Linked DNA regions of Homo sapiens: all the other regions are linked to region 3. Evidence: promoter capture Hi-C in 16 types of primary human blood cells and fetal thymus (Javierre and others, 2016). All regions are on one chromosome and are shown on one strand. The core of a region is centred on a gene start or on the middle of the fragment in contact, and the rest is flanking DNA. Distances in the headings are between cores, read along the strand shown. Region 1 holds the start of RBM3 (RNA binding motif protein 3). Region 2 overlaps PPP1R3F (protein phosphatase 1 regulatory subunit 3F). Region 3 holds the start of SLC35A2 (solute carrier family 35 member A2).

Region 1 (3,710 bases), core at 901-3,400, 340 kb after region 3:
GAGAACATCCCAGCCCTTTGGCTACCCACCTGCCATTATAGTCTCTGGAACGTCCATATCCATATCCATACCCTCCAGGTCGACTGTCATAATACCTGCCACTCCCATAGCCCTGGTCCCCACCACCTAGAGCAGAAAAATATTTAAATGGCAGTTGTCCACACATAGGCAACTCTCCCTCTCACCCCATGATCAAAACGATCACTGCACTCACCTCTAGAGTAGCTGCGACCACGCCCATGGGCCCCAAAGCCACCTCCTCTGGTTCCCCGAGCAGACTTGCCTGCATGATCCACACGGATCTGACGACCATCCAGAGACTAAGTGTGGGAGACACAAGGATGATGGGTTGGCAGTCAGTCAGGGCAATGGTGAGGGAAGAGCAGGCAAGGGTAAGTGGGCAAAAGAGGCCAAAAATTCCTGCTGGGCACCAGGTTCTGGGTGCCATGTTCCAGAATAAGCTCCTTTACCCCAGAATGGCTTCATCAGGAGCTATAGAATCCCACACAAAATGACCTGAATGCACCATGTTCCCCTTGCTACTACTTACATCTTGACTGAACTCAGGCTGAGTTCTCCTCCCCACTCCTCTAAGCTGCCCGACTATCAGGGCTAGACAGACACCTCTCTTGGTTTGAGGCTTCAGAGTCCATGTCAGAAGACTCACGAGGTCCTCTCCGGGCCAGGCCCACAGGTCTGCAGACTCTACTACCTAAGCCCAAGGCAGGTCAACCATCCACAGGTGGCTTCTCGGCCTCATGCAGGACCAGTCGTCGCCTCCCAGGCGGCCAGGCTCTGTCTGCCGCTGCCCTCCACCCCCTAGAACAAAAGGCAGTCATGCTCCTGTGAGTGGGCACTGCGGGGCTTGGTGGCCACGCTGCCCCGAGCAGACACAGAGGGAAAAACAAAAAGAATGAAGGAAGCCGCAGATGGGGACAAGGTCCCTCTGCAGATAGGAGGCCCCACCTCTCCGTTCATGGCTCTCATGGCAACTGAAGCATGCTCTGGGTTGGTGAAGGTGATGAAACCAAAACCCCTGGACCGCTGAGTCTCCCGGTCCTTGACAACGACCACTGTGAGAGGGAGAGAAGATGGAGCAATGTGGACCAGTCAGTACCCCAAAGGTTAAGTAGCAAAGGGTGGCCGGAAAAGGAGATGGCATAGGTAGGGAAAACGGAGCGCTCCCACTAATCCCAAAGACGCTTCCCCTCATCCTTAGTCTACACCATAGGCTTAGGAAGAAAAAGAATTTGGAGGCGTGGGTCCTAACTTTTCAGTTAATACTCCTTGAAATGCAAGGATCCCAGACTTTCTCTCACCAACCCCCATTGTGAGTATGGCCCGTCTCACCCTCAGAGATAGGTCCGAAACTGCTGAAGTGGTCTTCCAGTGCCTGCTCGTCGGTGTTAAAGTTGAGCCCTCCCACGAAGAGCTTTCCTTCTTCAGAGGACATGGCAGTTCAAGTCCTGTGGGAAGAACATGAAGAATGGTGGCAGGAAGGAGAAAGAAAATGGAGATGTGAGAAAATAGCGAGACGGAAAGCAGAGAAAAAGCACAGAAAATAGACAAGAAAGAGGAACAAAATATGGGTAACTACAGAAAAGCTGAGAAAGGCGGCCAATAAGGTGGTAATCTGAGGAGCTGGCTCAGCGCAGCCACCATTAGGGGGCCACATTGCGCATGCTCTCACATTCATAGCCGCCACGCCCGTCATTTTGTGCCACTGCGCAAGCCCAGAACATCCCTGCGTTCCCTTAACGCCGGCAGAACAAGATGGCGGCGGCCACGTGGGATAAGGAAAGTAAGTGTCGGCTGTCGCGTGGTCACTGCCACCACCGACGCCACCAGTCCCTCCCGGTAGGCCTCACACTCAGATACAGCGCGCCGGCCTCCCACCAACCGAAATGTTTCACCTCCAAGCACGGGACCCGCCCGTCCCAGAGAAAGCCAAGCCTACGTGTCAGTGGCCATTACTCTCCCCACTCGCTATTCCCCGGTCACGGCCGGCGCGGCGCGTGTGTGGCGAGGAGCCGCCGTTTCGCAGGACATATGCAACTTACCTGGAAATTAAAACGTAAAAAACCCGGACGAACAGCGAGCTCGGAGGAGCACAAAAAACAGGGACGGGGCTGCGCCGGAAGACGATTGATAAAGAGTACGTAGCGAGAACGTCCCGGAACGTTCCCCTTGCGCGTCCCGGCGTGCGTGCTGATTGGCTGAGGCCAGCAGGAGCGGAGTGGTGGGGAGAGGAAGGGACAGCAAAGCGAAGGGAGCAGTGTTCTCCGCGAAATGGGGTGTTTCCGGAAATGGGGTGTTTCCGGAAATGGGGTCGACTTTTGAACAGCTGGTGCACCCTAAACGTCAGCATCCCCCCCACAACCGGCTGAGCTGCCTTTATCCCTTCCACAAAGGAACCTTCTCAATCTCATACTACTTGCTGTCCCTGACATCATCCTCCCGTCCTTGCCATCATTTCCCCCGCTGGATCGGATGTCTTCCTCACCATCGTAGTCGTCTTCCTCTAGGTCCCTGCCATTCTCTGATGTTAACCTCCTTCACCTTCTAGTTCTTTAACCTCATACCCTTTAAAGGCCTGACATTTTATCCCCCACCGTCACTGATGTCATCACCCTTCACAGTCCATGATGTCAGACCCAACGTTTTAAGGTTTGACCCTGACTCCTACTCTTTCTCCTCTGTGCTCAACATCTAGCCGCCTGTCATGGGACCCTTTTCCCTGGCGTCATTCCATCTCATCTCTGACTTCAGCCCTCACCCTTGTCTGACTGCTGGCGTGAAGCCAGCCCCTTAATTTTCTCACCAATAGACTGCCTGAGATGGCTTTTACAAAACAGGATGCTGGCCGGGCGCGGTGGCTCACGCCTGTATTCCCAGCACTTTGGGAGGCCAAAGCGGGCGGTTCACGAGTTCAGGAGTTCGAGACCTGCATGGCCAACATGGTGAAACCCCATCTCTACTAAAAATACAAAAAAAAAAAAAAAAAAAAAAAAAGAAAAAAAAAATTAGCTGGGTGTGGTGGCACGTGCCTGTAGTCCCACCTACTCGGGAGGCTGAGGCTGGAAAATCGCTTGAACCCGGGAGGCGGAGGTTGCAGTGAGCCGAGACCACGCCATTGCACTCCAGCCTGGGTGAAAACAAAACAAAACAAAAGAGGATGCTACGATCTTCAGAGGTTGTAAATCCCAATCCATAGAGCAATTTTTGCTCTCTTCGAAAGTAACTGAGCCCTTGCCGGGCGCAGTGGCTCATGCCTGTAATCCCAGCACTTTGGGAGGCCGAAGTGGGCAGATCACAAGGTCAGGAGTTCAAGACTACCCTGGCCAATATGGTGAAACCCTGTCTCTACTAACAATACAAAAAAAAAAAAAAATTAGCCGGGCGTGGTGGTAGGCACCTGTAGTCCCAGCTACTCAGGAGGCTGAGGCGGGATAATCGCTTGAACCCGGGAGGTGGAGGTTGCAGTGAGCTGAGATCATGCCACTGCACTCCAGCTTGGGCGACAGAGCAAGACTCAGTCTCAAAAAAAAAAAAAAAGTAACTGAGCCCTTGATTCACAGAAGGGACTTTCGCAATACACAATAGACTTATCCCAATCAAGTAGTGTCTGAGCCCACTGTTCACAATTTAGTCTTCAGTGTCTTGGCCACCTTTACAATAAATGGATTTGACAGATTTTTCACTTCTGAGCG
Region 2 (3,568 bases), core at 718-3,217, 360 kb before region 3:
CAAGAAAGGTGATTCGCCAGTCACAGAGTAAGCGAGCGGGTGAGGGCTGACAAGCCCTGTGGAGAAAAGCAAAGCAGACTTTCAGAGCAGTCACAGACTGCCATTGCCACCACCACCCGAGTCCTCTGGAGCACCCCCAGCATTCATGTTTTCAAAGAATTTTGCCAGCCCAAAGTGGGTCAGGCACTGAAACCCAAAGGGAAACTCAGCAGACCCCGGCTCCCATGTAGTCAACCTGAAGATAACGCTGACTTTCCGGGGGGATGAGTGGCTTCAGAAACCTGCCCCACGATACTCAGAATTGCAGTTACCCTGAGCCATCTGCTTTCTGAAAAGAACAGGGTTTGAAGGTGGCTGTGAAAGCCACCAAGTTATGTGGGGCACTGCTTTGCCTTCCCCAACAAGTGTGTCAGCCTCAACTCTGGGACTTGCGGGTGATCCAGTGGGGTAGAGGGAGAGCAGTTTCTCGTGCCATGAGCTTCTTCAACAGCCATGACTTCATTCTTTGGCCACGACCCATAGTAAGAAATCCATTCTACATCATAACCCAGCACACCCACACGTGTAAACAGACATATAAATAACTGAAAAATGGTTGTTCTTCGAGTGAAACAATACTTACCTTTACTGCATGTGGTGATACACTGGCATTTCTTATGCTATTTCCTTTTTCTTTTTAATGCTTGTTGAAACCCAGTAAATTGATTTCACAACTCAATAAAGGGTTAGGATATGCAATTTTGAACAATTCCAGCTCTGCCACCTATCAGCTGTGTGACCTGGGGCAAGTTACTTAACCTCTCTGTGCCTCAGTTACCTCATCTCTAAGGAGGGGATAATAATACCTACATCAGTGAGTTGTTCAGCAGATCAAAGAAATATTTGAAAAGTACCTATAAAGCACTTAACAGTAACCCCCTCCAAATTTCCATTGAGGGAAACTGAAGCTCTGAAAGGAAAGCAACTTGCCCAGTGTTGCCCTGCTGGTAAAATGCATCACCCAGCCTGGTACAGTAGCTAAGAGCTGGAGCACTAGAGCAGGACCACACAGGCTCAGATCCCAGCTCTGCCACTTTCTTAGCACGTGGCCTCAGGCCCATGTCCTTAACCATAATGCCCTACCAAGTTTTCTGTGGCATAAAAGAGGATCACGTTCACATTAATTCCTCACTCTACAGAAAACTAAGATGCCCCTGACTTGTCCCGTTCAACTCCAGTTATTCTGGTTTCCCCTGAGGCTGCCAACTCAGATAGCAGGTTGGATCCCCATCCCTTCAGTTATAGGTGCACTGAAAGACAGTGGGCCTTCCTGTGCATCAGCCCCAGTGACGGATCCTGGAGACACCATGGTGAGCAAACCCAACTAGGAAGCTTACAATTCAGTATGGAGGAAGACATTAAAAAAATACTCAAACTCATTATTTCAACAAACATTTATTGAGCACCTGCTAAGTGCCAGGCACTGTGGCAGGCCTGCAGGAATACAGTGGTGAATGAAAGCAGACCATGTCCCTACCCCTCACGGAGCTTACAGTCTAGCGGGGCAGAGAGTCATCCAGCAACCCCCTAATAAAGATATAACTACAAACTGCGATCAGTGCCTTTAGAAAAGGAAAGAATGCCCTAGAATAAGGGTCCCTGGCCCAATCTACAGGGTCAGGCAGGGCTTACTTAAGGATGCTGAAAAGCAAAACGAGCAAGTGGGGAGGTAGGGGAGTGAGAGGCTGCTTGGGAACACTGTGGGAGAGGTGATGAATGCAGTCCCCGACAAGGTGAGTTTGAGGAATTATTTGGGCCATCAGTCAAGTGGAGATGCCGAGTTTGGATACATGAAGCTAAGGGAAGAGCCAGGAGAAAGAGAAGGGCCAGAGAGTTAAGAGGAAAACCAGCAGAGTGTGGTCTCAAGGCAAGGGAAGACAAAGTGTTTTAAGTAGGAGTGGTCAACCACTTCAAGAGGAAAACTAAAAAACCACCTGCAGAATCTGGCAGATGCCGGGGGCTAACACTTACGGGGGTGAGCAAGTGCAGAAGGCAAGTACAGGCAACTCTGCAGGGGTCAGCAGTGAAGGGGAGGGTGATGAGGTGCTGGCCAGAAGCAGGAGGGAGAGAACGTGGGGTCAGCGGAGACAGAAGGGATGCTGGCACAGGCAAAGGTGAATAGAGGATCAAGCAAGGAGGGCAGCAGAAAACCTGCCAGGAGAGAAAAGGTGACTGATGATGTCAGATTCTAGAGCAAGTAGCAGAAACTGGGACCCAGAGCACAGGAGGGAGAAGTGGCCTGAGCAAGAAGGGACTCCTCGTCATCTGTAACACAGGGGAGGGAAATCAGCGTGCAGACTTGGGGGCCACAAGTTATAGGGAGTTCCATTCTTATGGCTTCTGTTTTGTTTTTTGAAGCAGGAGAGAAAGTCTGAAGGTAAAGAACATTTGAAAGAGTCACTTCAGAGGAGAAACGAGTGGATCAAAAAAATATAGTAGAACTGCTAGGCAGGGTGGCCGATGACCCCTCGACTGGTGGCGATGTTCATCTGCTCTGCCATGGGACATTCTCTAACAAAGCTTAGCACGTGCTGGGCTGATGAGTGCTATGAAAAAGCCAGGGGCCCGAGGACACTGGGGTGGACAGGCTCCCCTGGGGAAGTCCTCTTAGAACTGAGGGATCAACACTGGAGGAGACTGCAAGGGGTACGGGATAAATGTTCCTGGTGAAGGAAACAGCAGGGGCAAAGGCCCTGCAGCAGAAAGGAGCGAGGCCCTTTGGAGTAACAGAAAGACCATGGTGACAGGAGCTCAGAAAGACCACTGGTGTTAAGACTATGAGCCAGTGGAGGCCAGATTGGGGAATGGGATGGGAGGGTGCTTGAAGACCATGGTGAGGCTCTCTTGGTCTTTACTTTTAAGAAGAATAGGACACTTCCAAAGGGTAGTGTCAAGTGCCAAGGAAGATCAGGAGGGCTTTTCCCCACACCAGCCCTAGGACTTTGGACTCTGGGAGCCTCAGTTTGCTCATCCAGGAAAGAGAAATTTAAAACCCTCTACTTCACAGGGAATGTTGTCGGAATTAAACCAGACCTTGCATGAAAATATAGTACTCAGTGAAGTGCCTGGCGAAGAGCAGGGGCTCAGCCAGGTCTCATACAACAAATCCTCTGTACTCCATCCCACAAGCCCTGTGACATCTTAGGACCACTCTGCATCTCTTTCCCTGCTGGAACCTAGCACTGTGCCCAGCACACAGTAGGCAGTCAATAAATGCTTGTCGATGAATCATCTCTAAGCTTTAGAGTTACCAAATGCCTGGTCCAGCAACCCAGGGAAAGCAGCCATTTGGGTTTCTGAACTCTATCCTGATGGCTACCACGGACTTCTCCCATGCCCTCACCTGATGTGGCTGTGCTCAGTGCACAGAGGGCCTACAGCCAACATTTCCTCAACAGGAAGCCCTCTGATAGGGCTCCCACAGGTAAGGGATATACCCTGAGATCCTCCGCCATTTCCCAAGAGGGCTAGGTCACAAAGGGTGGCTAGTCTTCAACAGTGCTGCAAGTCACTGGCAGCACACAGGTTC
Region 3 (3,644 bases), core at 1,145-3,644:
TACAGGTCATTACCAGTCATTAAAGTCCAGTATTACTAAGGTAAGGGATTGAGGATCAGGGGTTAGAAGACATAAACCAAGTCTGCCCAGTTCCCTTCCCAATCCTACAAAGGAGCCTTCCTCCCAGAACCTGTGGTCCCTGATTCTGGAGGGGGAACTTCTTGCTTCTCATTTTGCTAAGGAAGTTTATTTTGGTGAAGTTGTTCCCATTCTGAGCCCCGGGACTCTTATTCTGATGATGTGTCACCCCACATTGGCACCTCCTACTACCACCACACAAACTTAGTTCATATGCTCTTACTTGGGCAAGGGTGCTTTCCTTCCAATACCCCAGTAGCTTTTATTTTAGTAAAGGGACCCTTTCCCCTAGCCTAGGGTCCCATATTGGGTCAAGCTGCTTACCTGCCTCAGCCCAGGATTCTTTATTCTGGGGGAGGTAATGCCCTGTTGTTACCCCAAGGCTTCTTTTTTTTTTTTTTTTTTTTGGGTGAGGGGACCCTACTCTGTTATCCCAAGTGCTCTTATTCTGGTGAGAAGAACCTTACTTCCATAATTTGGGAAGGAATGGAAGATGGACACCACCGGACACCACCAGACACTAGGATGGGATGGATGGTTTTTTGGGGGATGGGCTAGGGGAAATAAGGCTTGCTGTTTGTTCTCCTGGGGCGCTCCCTCCAACTTTTGCAGATTCTTGCAACCTCCTCCTGAGCCGGGATTGTCCAATTACTAAAATGTAAATAATCACGTATTGTGGGGAGGGGAGTTCCAAGTGTGCCCTCCTCTCTTCTCCTGCCTGGATTATTTAAAAAGCCATGTGTGGAAACCCACTATTTAATAAAAGTAATAGAATCAGAAGCGGCTGGCCATTTGTAGGTGTGAGGCTTTTATGGAGCATCTACTGTGCACTGAGACAGACTGTCCCTCTGCTTTGTCCTCAGGAAGCCACAGTCTTATGTTGCCATCCTAAAGAGCTTTAAGGATTCTTGAAGCTGCACCACACACACACAAAAAAATCTTGATTCCCCTGCCCCTGATCTTATGCAGTGCCCAGTATGTGCAGAAGGGTTCTCTGTTGGAGATACTGTGCATATTGAAGGTGTTTAGGGCACATCCCCAATCAAGATGGCTATCTCAGAAGCAGAAAAACTACCTTCCCTGGCACCCCAGGGGAATGAAGAAGCCCTTTCCCCTGTTGCAGAAGAAAAGCCCTGTCAGGGTACTGGCCAGGGCGGGGCTGGGGTTGGGCGCTGACTGGAATCTGTCCAGGGTGTAGTCACCTGTTTTGCTCTTTATCTTTAGCCTCTTCCCCCATCTTTACCCTTACATACCCATCCCTCTAATTTCTCCTTCAACACTTGACTTACCTGGCCTACCCTATTCCATGTTGGTTTCACTTGTTCCGACCTGAGTTGTTCCCTCTCTTGCCCTGCTTATTTGTCTCGGTTCAGTATAAACTCCGCCTTCCGGGTTCCAGCGGTTCTCCTGCCTCAGCCTCCAGAGTAGCTGGGTACAGGTGCATACCACTAAGCCCGGGTAATTTTTTTTTTTTATTTGAGACGGGGTTTTGTCGTTTTGCCCAGGCTGGAACTCCTGAGCTCAGGTGATCGCCCGGCTCAGCCTCCCAAAGTGCTGGGATTACAGGCGTGAGCCACCGCCTCTGGCCCGGACTCTTGCCCTGCTTCCAAATGCTAGCTAACCTGTGAGCCTTTCGCCTGTCCCCTTTGCCATCCTCAGTGGTGACTCACTTGTCTTCCCTTATGTGCGTCAACTTTCCTTTGCATTTTCACTTGTTTATCCTCACCTGCTCTGCTTTTATCTGCTAGCTTAACATTCCTGACTCGCACCTGATGCCAGTACGCCCTCACCCCGACCCCGCCAGGTCAAAGTTTCTTCGTCCCCAGATTCCCGTGTGCTCTCCAGGGGGCGAGGCCTCTCTGGAAGACGGGAAAGCGGAATTTCAGTCCAACCATGAAGCACCTGGTAGTTTCTGATACGGAAAGGGCGGCGCCTTATGGAGAAGCTGCCAATAAAGAGCCGAGATGAAAGGGGTGGCTGAACCAATGAGTCTAGGAGACAAGATCGGGGGATGATCTGGAAAGCGCGATCAGTGAAGCGGACGAACGGCAGGATAAGGCGGGTCTAGTGACAGGAATGGGCCGATGAAGCTCTGTAGGGATGGTGGGTAGGCCGATCGGGCCGTGTCCCCGGCCTCCCGATCCGACGGAATTTGGAAATCCCGGGGCTATTCATACATTGAGCTTTTAGGAGCGGAGGAGAAAAGCCACCACCCTGACGATCCCGGCTCTCGCTCCACCTTCACTCAGGTGGCCCGGCAGCGGAAGTGACGAACGCGGAAGTGGTTTTTCTGTTGCCGAGGGGACGGGCCGGGCAGATGCCAACATGGCAGCGGTTGGGGCTGGTGGTTCCACCGCGGCGCCCGGGCCAGGGGCGGTTTCCGCGGGTGCATTGGAGCCGGGGACCGCCAGTGCGGGTGAGACAGTCTGCCCGAGCAGTCGCATGGGAGGCGGAGGTCGGGATCGCTGGGAGTCGGGAATGTTCCTCACTAAAGTGAGAGGGAGCATCCCGTGTGGACCGACGTGTGTGTGTGTGTGTGTGTGCACATTGTCAGTGTGTTGGGGGCGGGGAAGAGAACATTCTGAGAGTGATTGTGGGATCCTTCCGCATATGGAGAGTAGAGACCATTGTGAGTGTGGTGGGTAATTCTTTTTGGGAAGGCTAAGGCCACCGAAACCATTCTGAATATGTGGAGTCCTTCCGTGTGGAAGAGACCATTCTGCGGGTGTGGGAGTTCCTCACTGAAGAAGGGGGAGACTATTCTGAGGGTGGTGGTTCCTTCCTTATAAAGGGACAGAGACTATTGTGAGTTAGGGTGGGGCGAGTCCTTCTTTATGTGACTAGAGAGGGTCCATTTTGAGGATGGGGGTGTCTTTCATTATGTGCGGAGGAGACCGTTCTGGGGGCTCCCTCCTAATGGAGGTAGAGTTCATTGTACATTCGGGTGGGAGGGCTCATCGTTATATGGTGGAGAAAGAACGTTCTGAGAGTGCCGGGTCCTTCCTTATAGCAGAGAGAGCTCATTGTGAGTGTGGGTAGAGCAAGGAAAAATTCATTAGCTAGAGGGTCCGTGTGCGGTGGTGGGAGGGCAGACCATGTGGAGTGCAGGGAAGTATTTCCTCATCTGGTTGAGGGAGCCAGACCTTTCTTGGTGGGATAACCATTCCTGATACAGGATTCAGTCCCTGGGAGCATGTGGGAATCATTTCTTGTATTTAGTAGACTATTCTGGTTCGAGAGGAACCAGTTGTCACAGGAGTGAGGGGTTGGAGAGACCATTCTGGGTATGAGGAGGATCATTCCATATGGGATGTAGGCCATTCTCAGTGTGAGGGAATCGAATCATTTCTTAGATAGGAGAAAGACCGTTCTTAGGGGGTGAACATACCTCATACAGTGGCCTCATTCCCTGCATTGATGTGTTATTCTTTACATGAGACAGTCCCTCATTAAACAGGAGCATCATTTCATATAAATTCTCAGTTTGCTAATCCATAAATGGGAATCCTCGCAGTTCTTTTGGAGATGACAGTGATATGAGTCTATTGAGGTAATCCATAGAAATC

What was found. Contacts are between HindIII fragments. The CHiCAGO score rates a contact against its expected background, and 5 or more counts as called.
Region 1: a contact is called between the fragment with the promoter of RBM3 here and the fragment with the promoter of SLC35A2 in region 3, in 1 of 17 cell types (neutrophils). The highest score is 6.9, in neutrophils.
Region 2: a contact is called between a fragment that was not itself captured here and the fragment with the promoter of SLC35A2 in region 3, in 1 of 17 cell types (neutrophils). The highest score is 5.5, in neutrophils.

What each region holds. Positions count from the first base shown.
Region 1 is chrX:48,572,924-48,576,633 of GRCh38, reverse strand. It overlaps RBM3 (RNA binding motif protein 3), which reads right to left and starts at 2,150. Exons shown (of 7, transcript NM_006743.5): 1 at 2,061-2,150; 2 at 1,351-1,466; 3 at 967-1,073; 4 at 215-320; 5 at 30-126. The coding sequence starts at 1,453. RefSeq lists enhancers at 1,823-2,092, 1,076-2,275 and a cis regulatory region at 2,032-3,017. The HindIII fragment of the contact is 13,325 bases long and covers 1-3,710 here.
Region 2 is chrX:49,273,619-49,277,186 of GRCh38, reverse strand. The region is part of intron 1 of PPP1R3F (protein phosphatase 1 regulatory subunit 3F); the gene reads right to left. Among named protein-coding and RNA genes, the nearest start is that of PPP1R3F, 5.6 kb to the right of the region's middle. The HindIII fragment of the contact is 1,188 bases long and covers 1,374-2,561 here.
Region 3 is chrX:48,910,396-48,914,039 of GRCh38, reverse strand. SLC35A2 (solute carrier family 35 member A2) reads left to right here and starts at 2,394. Exons shown (of 5, transcript NM_005660.3): 1 at 2,394-2,494. The coding sequence starts at 2,404. PIM2 (Pim-2 proto-oncogene, serine/threonine kinase) reads left to right here. Exons shown (of 6, transcript NM_006875.4): 6 at 1-858. RefSeq lists enhancers at 1,451-1,500, 2,741-2,790 and a silencer at 3,151-3,200. The HindIII fragment of the contact is 18,859 bases long and covers 1-3,644 here.